Linked DNA regions of Homo sapiens: region 1 is linked to region 2. Evidence: promoter capture Hi-C in human tissues and cell types (Jung and others, 2019). All regions are on one chromosome and are shown on one strand. The core of a region is centred on a gene start or on the middle of the fragment in contact, and the rest is flanking DNA. Distances in the headings are between cores, read along the strand shown.

What was found. Contacts are between HindIII fragments. The study calls those that stand out against the background at their distance.
Region 1: a contact is called between a fragment that was not itself captured here and the fragment with the promoter of MYBPC3 in region 2, in 4 of the 25 tissues and cell types used here (heart left ventricle, hippocampus, liver and 1 more).

What each region holds. Positions count from the first base shown.
Region 1 is chr11:47,455,452-47,460,566 of GRCh38, forward strand. No RefSeq gene overlaps it. Among named protein-coding and RNA genes, the nearest start is that of RAPSN, 8.9 kb to the left of the region's middle. RefSeq lists an enhancer at 1-461. The HindIII fragment of the contact is 7,589 bases long and covers 1-5,115 here.
Region 2 is chr11:47,350,803-47,355,963 of GRCh38, forward strand. It overlaps MYBPC3 (myosin binding protein C3), which reads right to left and starts at 1,900. Exons shown (of 35, transcript NM_000256.3): 1 at 1,821-1,900; 2 at 437-703. The coding sequence starts at 1,845. SPI1 (Spi-1 proto-oncogene) reads right to left here. Exons shown (of 5, transcript NM_003120.3): 5 at 4,058-4,744. The coding sequence ends at 4,425. RefSeq lists enhancers at 1-543, 544-1,524. The HindIII fragment of the contact is 22,693 bases long and covers 1-5,161 here.

The sequences.
Region 1 (5,115 bases), core at 711-3,210, 100 kb after region 2:
TGCACCTGTAGTCCCAGCTACTCAGGAGGCAGAGGCACGAGAATTGCTTGAACCTGGGAGGTGGAGGTGGCAGTGAGCCGAGATTGTGCCATTGCACTCCAGCCTGGGTGACAAGAGGAAAACTCTGTCTCAAAAAAAAAAAAAAAAAAAAAAAAAGTGGAAACTCACGCATGCTCAGACCTTGACTGCCTACCAACCACTCCAGTGGTCGGGGTCTGGCCCCAAGAGACCATGAATGTCTTACCAATTCATTCATTGGAACCATGCACCCCTGACTCCCTGTTCTCGCCTTGACACTGAAGCCAAATGCCACTTGTCTTATGCTGGCCTCCTTTCACATGAGTACATCACAGTTGCAGCCCCTGCTCCAGATGCATGACGAAATGTAACTGAAGGGGACAGTCCCAAGGTCCCTCTACCACGACTATCGGGATTCTTGGGAAGTCTCCCCATCTTACCAAGTTAGTTTCCCCAATTAAAAAGATATTGGCCGGGCGTGGTGGCTCACGCCTGTAATCCCAGCACTTTAAGAGGCTGAGGCAGGCGGATCACAAGGTCAAGAGATTGAGACCATCCTGCCCAACATGGTGACACCCTGTCTCTACTAAAAATACAAAAATTAGCTGGCGTGGTGGTGCGTGCCTGTAGTCCCAGCTACGTGGGAGGCTGAAGGAGGAGAATCGCTTGAACCCGGGAGGCGGAGGTTGCAGTGAGTAGAGATTGCACCACTACGCTCCAGCCTGGCGATAGAGCGAGACTCTGTTCCAAAAAAAAAAAAAAAAGATATCACCTCTCTGGCAAGTTTTCTGTGAAAATCAAATGAGATGATAAGATAACTTGCTTTGAAAAGAAGCCATTGAACTAACATCCCTCTATTGGCTTATTATTTACGGTAGTGAAAAACTAGAAAGAATCTGTGTCTGATAGAAGGGTGTTCATAACCATGAAGTGCTATGTAGACTCTAAATAAGGAAGCAGTAGATACCTGTGTACCCAGATGGAAGGGAGCCCAGGGCATAGTAACTTAAAAAAGCAAGCTGCAGACTGGGCGTGGTGGCTCACGGCTGTAATCCCAGCATTTTGGGAGGCCGAGGCAGGTGGATCACCTGAGGTCAGGAGTTCAAGACCAACCCGACCAACATGGTGAAACCTGGTCTCTAATAAATACAAAAAATTAGCTGGGCATGGTGGCGGGCACCTGTTAATTCCAGCTACTCAGGAGGCTGAGGCAGGAGAATCGCTTGAACCCGGGAGGCAGAGGTTGCGGTGAGCCGAGATCGTGCCACTGCACTCCAGCCTGGCTAACAAGAGTGAGACTCCTTCTAAAAAAAAAAAAAAAAAAAAAACAAGCTGCAAAACATTCTGTATATTACGGTGTGATTTTTATTTTATTATTATTATTATTCTTGAGACGGAGTCTCACTCTGTCACCCAGGCTGAAGTGCAGTGGCGCGATCTCAGCTCACTGCAAGCTTCGCCTCCCGGGTTCAAGCTAGTCTCCCGCCTCAGGCTCCTGAGTAGCTGGGACTACAGGTGCCTGCCAACACACCCGGCTAATATTTTGTATTTTTAGTAGAGACAGGGTTTCACTGTGTTAGCCAGGATGGTCTGGATCTCCTGACCTCGTGATCTACCCGCCTTGGCCTCCTAAAGTACTGGGATTATAGGCATGAACTACCGCACCTGGCCTTTTTTTTCTGAGATGGTTTCGCTCTTGTTGCCCAGGCTGGAGTGCAATGGCGCGATCTCGGCTCATTGCAACCTCCGCCTCCTGGGTTCAAGTGATTCTTCTGCCTCGGCCTCCGAGTAGCTGGGATTACAGGCATGCACCATCATGCCTGGCTAGTTTTGTATTTTTAGTAGAGACGGGGTTTCACTGTGTTAGCCAGGATGGTCTCGATCTCCTGACCTCGTGATCTGCCCGCCTTGGCCTCCCAAAGTGCTGGGATTACAGGCGTGAGCCACTGCACCCAGCCATTTTTTTTTTTTTTTTTTGAAACAGGGTCTCGCTCTGTTACCCAGGCTGGAGTACAGTGGTGCGATCATGGCTCACTGCAGCCTCAACCTCTTGGGCTCAAGCAATCCTCCCGCTTCAGCCTCCCAAGTGGCTTGGACTACAGGTGTGTGCCATCACACCTGGCTAATTTTTTAAATTTTTTGTAGAGACAGGTCTGTGTTGCCCAGGCTGGTCTCAAACTCCTGGGCTCAAGTAATCCTCCTGCTTCAGCCTCCCAAAGTGCTGGGATTATAGGCATAATCCGAGCTACCATACTCAGCATGATCTCAACATGATCTCATTTTTATTAACAAAAATTACTTATTTTTTGTGTTTATAAGGAAAAATCCGGCCAGGTGCGGTGGCTCACGCCTGTAATCCCTGCACTTTGGGAGGCCGAGGCTGGCGGATCACGAGGTCAGGAGATCCAGACCATCCTGGCTAACATGGTGAAACCCCGTCTCCACTAAAAATGCAAAAAATTAGCTGGGCGTGGTGGCGGGTGCCTGTAGTCCCAGCTACTCGGGAGGCTGAGGCAGGAGAATGGCATGCACCCAAGAGGTGGAGCTTGCAGTGAGCCGAGTTTGCGCCACTGCACTCCAGCCTGGGTGACAGAGCGAGACTGCGAGACTCCGTCTCAAAAAAAAAAAAAAAAAAAAAAGAAAGAAAAAAGCAAAATCCTGGAAGCATATGACCCCATCTGTTATCAATGGGCTGTGGGATGGGGCATTCGCTCACTTTTAACCATGACTTACTGTTGTTACTAGCGACTTTAATGAGTGCTTGCCAGGGGCAGTAGCTTGGCTATTTGTTTGTGCATTTATTCTTTTTTGAGACGGAGTCTTGCTCTGTCGCCCAGGCTGGAGTGCAGTGACGGCATCTCGGTTCACTGCAAGCTCCGCCTCCCAGGTTCACGCCATTCTCCTGCCTCAGCCTCCTGAGAACCTGGGACTACAGGCACCCGCCACCACTCCCGGCTAATTTTTTTTTTTGTATTTTTAGTAGAGACGGGGTTTCACCTTGTTAGCCAGGATGGTCTTGATCTCCTGACCTCGTGATCCGCCCGCCTCGGCCCCCCAAAGTGCTGGGATTAAAGGCGTGAGCCACCGCGCCCGGCTGTGCATTTATTCTTTTTGTAGAGATGGAGTCTCGCTATGTTGCCCAGGCTGGTTTTGAACTCCTGGGCTCAAGCAATCCCCCTGCCTTCGCCTCCCCATGTGCTGGGATTACAGGCATGAGCCACCACACCCGGCCCCTTTGGCTAGTTTTTGAGACAATCTCTCATCTTCCCAACTGTACGGGGCAGGTGCTTTTGTTTCCATTTAACAGATGAACAATCTGGGGCTGAGAATCAAGTAATTTGTCCAAGGTCACAGGGGTGCTGATGGTAGACTTGGTATTACCGGATTAGGGAATCCTTAAAACAAAGATTTCCCCAACATACTCTAAGCCTTTTGAAGAACCACCTAAATGTTTTGCATTTAATAAAAAAAAATTAAGGCCAGGCGTGGTGGCTCACGAGGTCAGGAGTTCGAGACCAGTCTGACCAACATGGTGAAACCCCATCTCTACTAAAAATACAAAAATTTGCCAGGCGTGGTGGCACGCGCCTGTAATCCCAGCTACTCAGGAGGCTGAGGCAGGAGAATTGGTTGAACCTGGGAGGCGGAGGTTGCAGTGAGCTGATACCATACTGCTGTACTCCAGCCTGGGCAACAAGAGTGACACTCCATCTCAAAAAAAAAAAAAAAATTCAAACCCTCACCTGATTTTGTAAACAAGTCATTGCTGTCAGGTGTTTCGGGCTCCAGGCACATCCCATTCTAGGGAAGGGCAGGTTAGTGGCACTCTCAGGGCTGAATGGCCACAGGTAGGCTCCCCTCACCTGGGTCCTTCCCTGACCGCCAAGGGGGAACCTCTAACAGCACAGGGCCCTGCTACTGAAACAGGTGCTGGCACCAACTTCAAGTGGCAGGGCCCCTGGTGAGCGGACTCAGAAGTTGTATTAGAATTCCTGTAAAGTCGCTCTGAGGGACTTGGCGGTCATTTGTGTTGGATGGTGACAGAAATGTCTACTGAATACTTACCCGCCAGTGTGTGTGGAATGGTGAGGCCTCCAGTGAGAAATGAAGTATGGCTCCTGTCTTCATGAAGCTCTGTCCCAGAGGTGGAATTTAAACCAGGGCACCCCAGGGTCCACCTTAGTGACCCCTCAAAGGAATATGTTCTACAGGACTACGGGGTCAGGTTGGCCTGCATGAAAACACAACTGTCCTACTTATTAGCCACATGAACAGAAGAACTGCAGCTTCTCTGTGCCTCAGTCTATCTTCCTATGCTACCAGTTGCTGGGAGGACGAATGCAGTGGCTGTGGCTGATTAATAAATGGTGGCTTTGTTTTCTTAAAAGCAGAATAGGTCGGGCGTGGTAGCTCACGCCTGTAATCCCAGCACTTTGGGAGGCTGAGGTGGGCGGATCACCTGAGGTCAGGAGTTCGAGACCAGCCTGGCCAACATGGTAAAACCCCGTCTCTACTAAAAATAGAAAAATTAGTCAGGTGTGATGCCAGGTGCCTGTAGTCCCAGCTACTCGGGAGGCTGAGGCGGGAGAACTGCTTGAACCCAGAGGGCAGAGGCTGCAGTGAGCCGAGATCCTGCCACTGCACTCCAGCCTGGGCAACAGTGAGACTCCATCTCAAAAACAAACAAGCAAACAAACAAAAACAGCAAACTGTCTAGAACAGTCCTGCCACTGCCTGTGATGATGGAAATGTTTTGTATCGGCACTGTCCAATAGGATAGCCACCAGTCACTTGAAATGTGGCTAGTGAAACCGAGGTACTACATTTTTGTTATTTTAAGAGGGAGTTTCGCTCTTGTTGCCCAGGCTGGAGTGCAATGGCATGATCTCAGCTTACCACAACCTTCACTTCCCGGGTTCAAGCAATTCTCCTGCCTCAGCCTCCCGAGTGGCTGAGATTACAGGCATGCACCACCACGCGGGGCTAATTTTGTATCTTTAGTAGAGACGGGGTTTCTCCATGTCGGTCAGGCTGGTCTCAAACTCCCAACCTCAAGTGATCCGCCTGCCTCGTCCTCCCAAAGCGCTGGGATTACAG
Region 2 (5,161 bases), core at 650-3,149:
CTCCTCCCCGTCCCAGGCCATCAGTTCCCATGTCCTCTGCATCTGCCCTGAACAGCTCCAGGTCCATCCCTGCTCTGCCCCAGCCTTAGAGCAGCCCCTCAGACTGGGCTGCACTCCCCTCATCCACAGCTCCTGGGGCTTCCCGGCCGTCTGTGCAGGGTCATCTCCCCAGGGAGGTCTGCAGGGGGAGAGTGGGGTTGTGTCTTGTTCATCTCTCCCACCTACCCCATGGCTGGAACAAGCCAGGATGGCACATGGGGGTACTCAGAGAGGTCATGTGCAGAAAAGGGGGAAAGGGCGTTCCTGGCGGGGGGCACAGCCACAGCAAAGGCAAGAAAGTGTGAAAGCACCTCCTGTTCCCTGGATGGATGGAGAGTCGCTGGGCTGCCCCTCCCCCAGCAGCCCAAACCTCAGGGAAGGCTGATCAGGATCTTACCTGCCTCTATGACCTTGAGGTCGAACTTGACCTTGGAGGAGCCAGCAATGACTGCGTAAGATCCCTGGTCGGCAGGGCCCACTTCCCGCACTGTCAGCGTATGCCGTGTGCCCTCTGTGGCCAGGCCGTACTTGTTGCTGGCGCTGATGTCACTGCCTCCGCGCTGCCAGCGCACCTTCACTCCTGCCCGCTCTGTCTCGGCCTCGAACACGGCAGGGCTGCCTGCGGCCACTTCCACTGACCGTGGCTTCTTGCTAAAAGCTGAGACTGAAGGGCCAGGTGGAGGCTACAGCGGCCCCTGGTTGGAGCGTGCACCCCGCCCCTGCAGCCCCTCTCAGTAAATACTGTGCTAGCACTTTCTATGCATCCCCTCACGTAATACTCTACCAGTTCTCTGAGGTAGTTGCAGTTATTCTGTTCATTTCTCAGAGGAGGACACTGAGGCTCAGAGAAGCTAAGCGGCTCCTCCAAGATCACACAGCTAGCAGTCGGGAGAGCCAGGGCTGTGGTCCTGACCTCCCAACAAGACTTTTTCTGCATGTGTCCACTTTCCCTGCTTGGAGACACCCGTGATGAACCCAGCTCCCTTTCCCCCAACCATTTCGGGCCCTTGGCAGGGGGCGGGGAAGTCTGCCTACTTGGAATGTGGCCAAATTTGTCCTCCAAGGACCTCAGGCTGGGTATCAGCAACTGAGATAAAGCTGGCCTGGGAGGGCGCTGGGGGATGGGGACCTGGATCTCTGCCCTGGACAACCTTCATAAGGGCACAGCCCAGGCCCAGGTCCCTGGGCTGTGATTTTCCCTGCCCTTGGCCTGGGTTCAGGGGCTCCTGACTGTCCTCTCTCAGAGAAGAGGGGCTGTGTCACCCTCAACATGGGGGCCACACCGTACAGGCTCATGAAGCAGATAATGTCACAGCCAGGAGGAACCAACCCAATGCCACCACCACCCCCGGCACCCCAGGTTGGGAGACTGAGACCCATAGTGGGTAGAGACTGGTCTGAAGGCATGCCGTGAGCCTGGCTCAGCTCCATACTAAACGTGGGCTCTGTCCGCGGGGAACCTTGCTGTGGAAGGTGAAGGCAATGGGACAGGGAAGGGGTCCCTTTGCATTCTCAGAATGGGTTGACCCCGGGTGCTTCCTGTCTTGGCTGTGTCCCCTCTCTGCGTCCCTGACCTTGGGTTTACCTTCACCTCTCATCAGAGGGATGGGAAAAAGAAACCGAGAATCAAAAAAGGACCCTGGAGGACTGGCTGCCCCTGTCCTGGGGCTCAGAGGCCACGTCCTCGTCAACCCCCTCAAGAACTCCCTCCTAGCCCTGCTCCCCAATTGTAGACACCCCCCTGCTCCCACACTTAGACCCAACCCCAGTCCTAAAGCTACCTGGCTTCTTCCCCGGCTCAGGCATCCTGAGAGACGTCACACCAGGCACGAAGCAGGCACAGGTCACCCAAAGAGGGACTGAGTGGGGTCCTGTCCTTCCCACTATATATGGGGACCTCCCCCCTCCCCAGGCTCTGCTTATCTGCCTCCTGTCCAGCCACCTGCTAAATATAGATGAATTCCAGAGAGCTGAGGTCTCTCCAGGGAGAAGGTAGGGCCACATTGTCCCTGGCTGGCTCCTGTCCCTTCCCCCCTCACCCCCCGCAGCACAATTCTGCCTCCCCAACCTTTGGCAAGCCTCAGGGGTACTCCAAGCCCCGTGTGTGTCCCTCTTACAGCAAATTGTACGGTGGGAGCATGCTGGGCCCATAACCCTAAGGCTAACGGGTCAGGAGCATCCTCGCAGGCAGTTCAGGCAGTGGTCATGTCCACAGACCCTGGGGCCAGGGTGTCTCTGAGTCCTAGCACTGCCATCTCTTTAATCTCAAAGCACCTGGTTTCCTCATCTGTAAAGCGGGGTGGGTGAAAGCAGCACCCACTGCACAGGATTGTCACACGTATGAAGTGGGTTTATAATTTTAAAAATGTTAGGCCGGGTGTGGTGGCTCATCTGTAATCCCAGCACTTTGGGAGGCCGAGGCAGGCAGATTATTTGAGGCCAGGAGTTTGAGACCAGCCTGGGCAACATGGCAAAACCCCATCTCTACTAAAAAAATAAAAAATAAAATAAATACACACACACACACAAATTAGCCAGGTGTGGTGGTGTGGACCTGTAGTATCAGCTACCCAGGAGGCTGAGGTGGGAGGATCGCTTGAGTCCAAGGAGTTCCGGGCTGCAGTGAGCCAAAATCGCACCACTGCACTGCAGCCTGGGTGACAGAGTGATAATAATAATAAAAATATTATTTATTATTATTTTTTATTATTAATATCTCAAAGAATAATAATAAAAAAATAAAAATGGGCTGGGCGAAGTGGCTCACACCTGTAATCCCAGCACTTTGGGAGGCTGAGGCGGGCAGATCACTTGAGCTCAGGAGTTCGAGACCAGCCTGGGCAACATGATGAAACCCCATCTGTACAAAAAATACAAAAATCAGTCAGGCATGTGACGCACACCTGTAGTCCCAGATGCTCGGGAGGCTGAGGCAGGAGAATCACTTGAGCCCGGGGGGTCAGGGCTGCAGTGAGCCATGTTCGTGCCACTGCACTCCAGCCTGGGCAACAAAGTAAGACCCTGTCTCAAAAAAAAAAAAATAAAAATAGAAGAATGAAGACACAACACCATTTTGCCTTCTCTTGTGGCCCTGCAGTAGGACTAGGGAGCTGCAGGGTTGGGCTGCAGTGAGCCCTCTGGGGTTGAGGAGGTGTGGGGCGGGTATTTGTCCCTACGATAATGGCCCCAGAATCTGGGTTCCCTAAGGTCTTTGACAGCGTTGGGAAGTCCCTCACTCCCAGGCTGTCTACTGCCACTACTTGCTACCGTCTGGAGGAAAACACAGGACTTACAGGCTTCTCCGCTCAGCTTGGTCTGTTTCTCCCCTGCTGTGGCTAGGAGCTAGAAAGCAAATAGAACCTGGGGGTCCCACCAGGGATTCACTTGGGTCTAAAGTCCTGCTGGGCGTGCAGCTCGTGAGAACCCTTTGCGGCCCACAGGAGCTTTGGGGCTTAATTCCTGTCCTCGGAATGCTGAAGAGTATCCTCTTCCAGATAAGCAAGGCCTCCCACTCCATGTTGACGTGTCGGGACAGACCTGGAGTGTGATCCAACTTGGCCACTCAACGGCTGTGACCTTGGGGAAATAATTTGACCTCTACAAGCCTCAGTTTCCCATTCTATAAAATGGAGTGATATTAGACTCCACATCTCAAGGTTGGCAGATACTAATTGACCAGAATATCAAATGTTGTTGCTGGTCATGGTCATCATCATCATCATCATCATCATCATGAGTTCAAACCTCATCAAGGCTTAAAAACAACAACTATCAGGAGTAGAGAGCTTTTAAATAGGATCTGCTCTCCTAATCACAATTGAGGACTTGTTCTTTCCACCAAACTCTAACTCCTGTTCAGGCGCTCTGTGTCATTGGTCCTCATGTTCCCAGGGTCCAGCATTGGGTACAGTCCTCGGTAAACACCCGATGGACAAATGACAAAAAGAGACGTCGCAGCACACAGGGGCCAAAAGAGATACACAACAAATTTTAAAAGAGACTCTGTGCTGCAAGAGGATGGATTGAGAATAACTTTACTTGTTTTTTGGGAGGAGGTTAATGGGTGGGAGGGGTGAGAGGGGAGATCTGATTTACATACGGACTTGAGACTCCCAAGGCAGTACCCCGGGTCGTCCTCTGCAAGGTTGCCCCGGTGGGGTCTGACGCCCAGCTGGCGTCCGGGAGCCGGGGTGGAGTCCTGGAGGGAGGCGAAGCGGGATGTGGAGGGGGCCTGGAGTGGGGGGAGGGGGCGGGTGAGGCGAGGCCCGGCCCGCCACAGTCCTGCCTCTGGGCCCCGGGAGCGTCCTCCCTGTGTCCGGGCCGGGCGAGGGCTTAATGCTATGGCCAGCGGGGAGGCCTGGCGGGGCCCGGCGGGGGCTGCGGGCTCAGTGGGGCGGGTGGCGCCGCTCGGCCAGGCCCCCGCGGCCCAGCACTTCGCCGCTGAACTGGTAGGTGAGCTTCTTCTTCACCTTCTTGACCTCGCCCGTCTTGCCGTAGTTGCGCAGCGCGCGCGCCATCTTCTGGTAGGTCATCTTCTTGCGGTTGCCCTTCTGGATGCCCCAGCGGTGCGCCAGCGCCTCCTTGTGCTTGGACGAGAACTGGAAGGTGCCCTTGTCCTTGTCCACCCACCAGATGCTGTCCTTCATGTCGCCGCTGCGGAGCAGGTCCAACAGGAACTGGTACAGGCGGATCTTCTTCTTGCTGCCTGCGGGGGGGAGGGCCCGGTGGGAGGGGGCCCGGGGCCCACATGGGAGCCGCCCCCACCGCCTTGCGTACGCACAGGGGCCCGGGGACGGGGTGGCCGGGAAGGGCAGGGGAACGGCTGCCCCAGCCCGCGCCGGGCGTGCATACACAACGCACCCACACTCACACACACACACATGCTTGCGCACACACAGGCGTTCACACACACCCACTCACACCCACGCACTCACCCCCCCCACGCGCACACACTCGCACCCACACAGTGCACCAAGTACACACACATGCTCACATCCACATAACGCACCCACACCTCCTTACACATGCTCACACATCACGCCCACACCCACTCACACACGTGCTCACACAACGCACCTTCTCACACCCACTCACACTCATGCTTAAACACAATGCAACCACT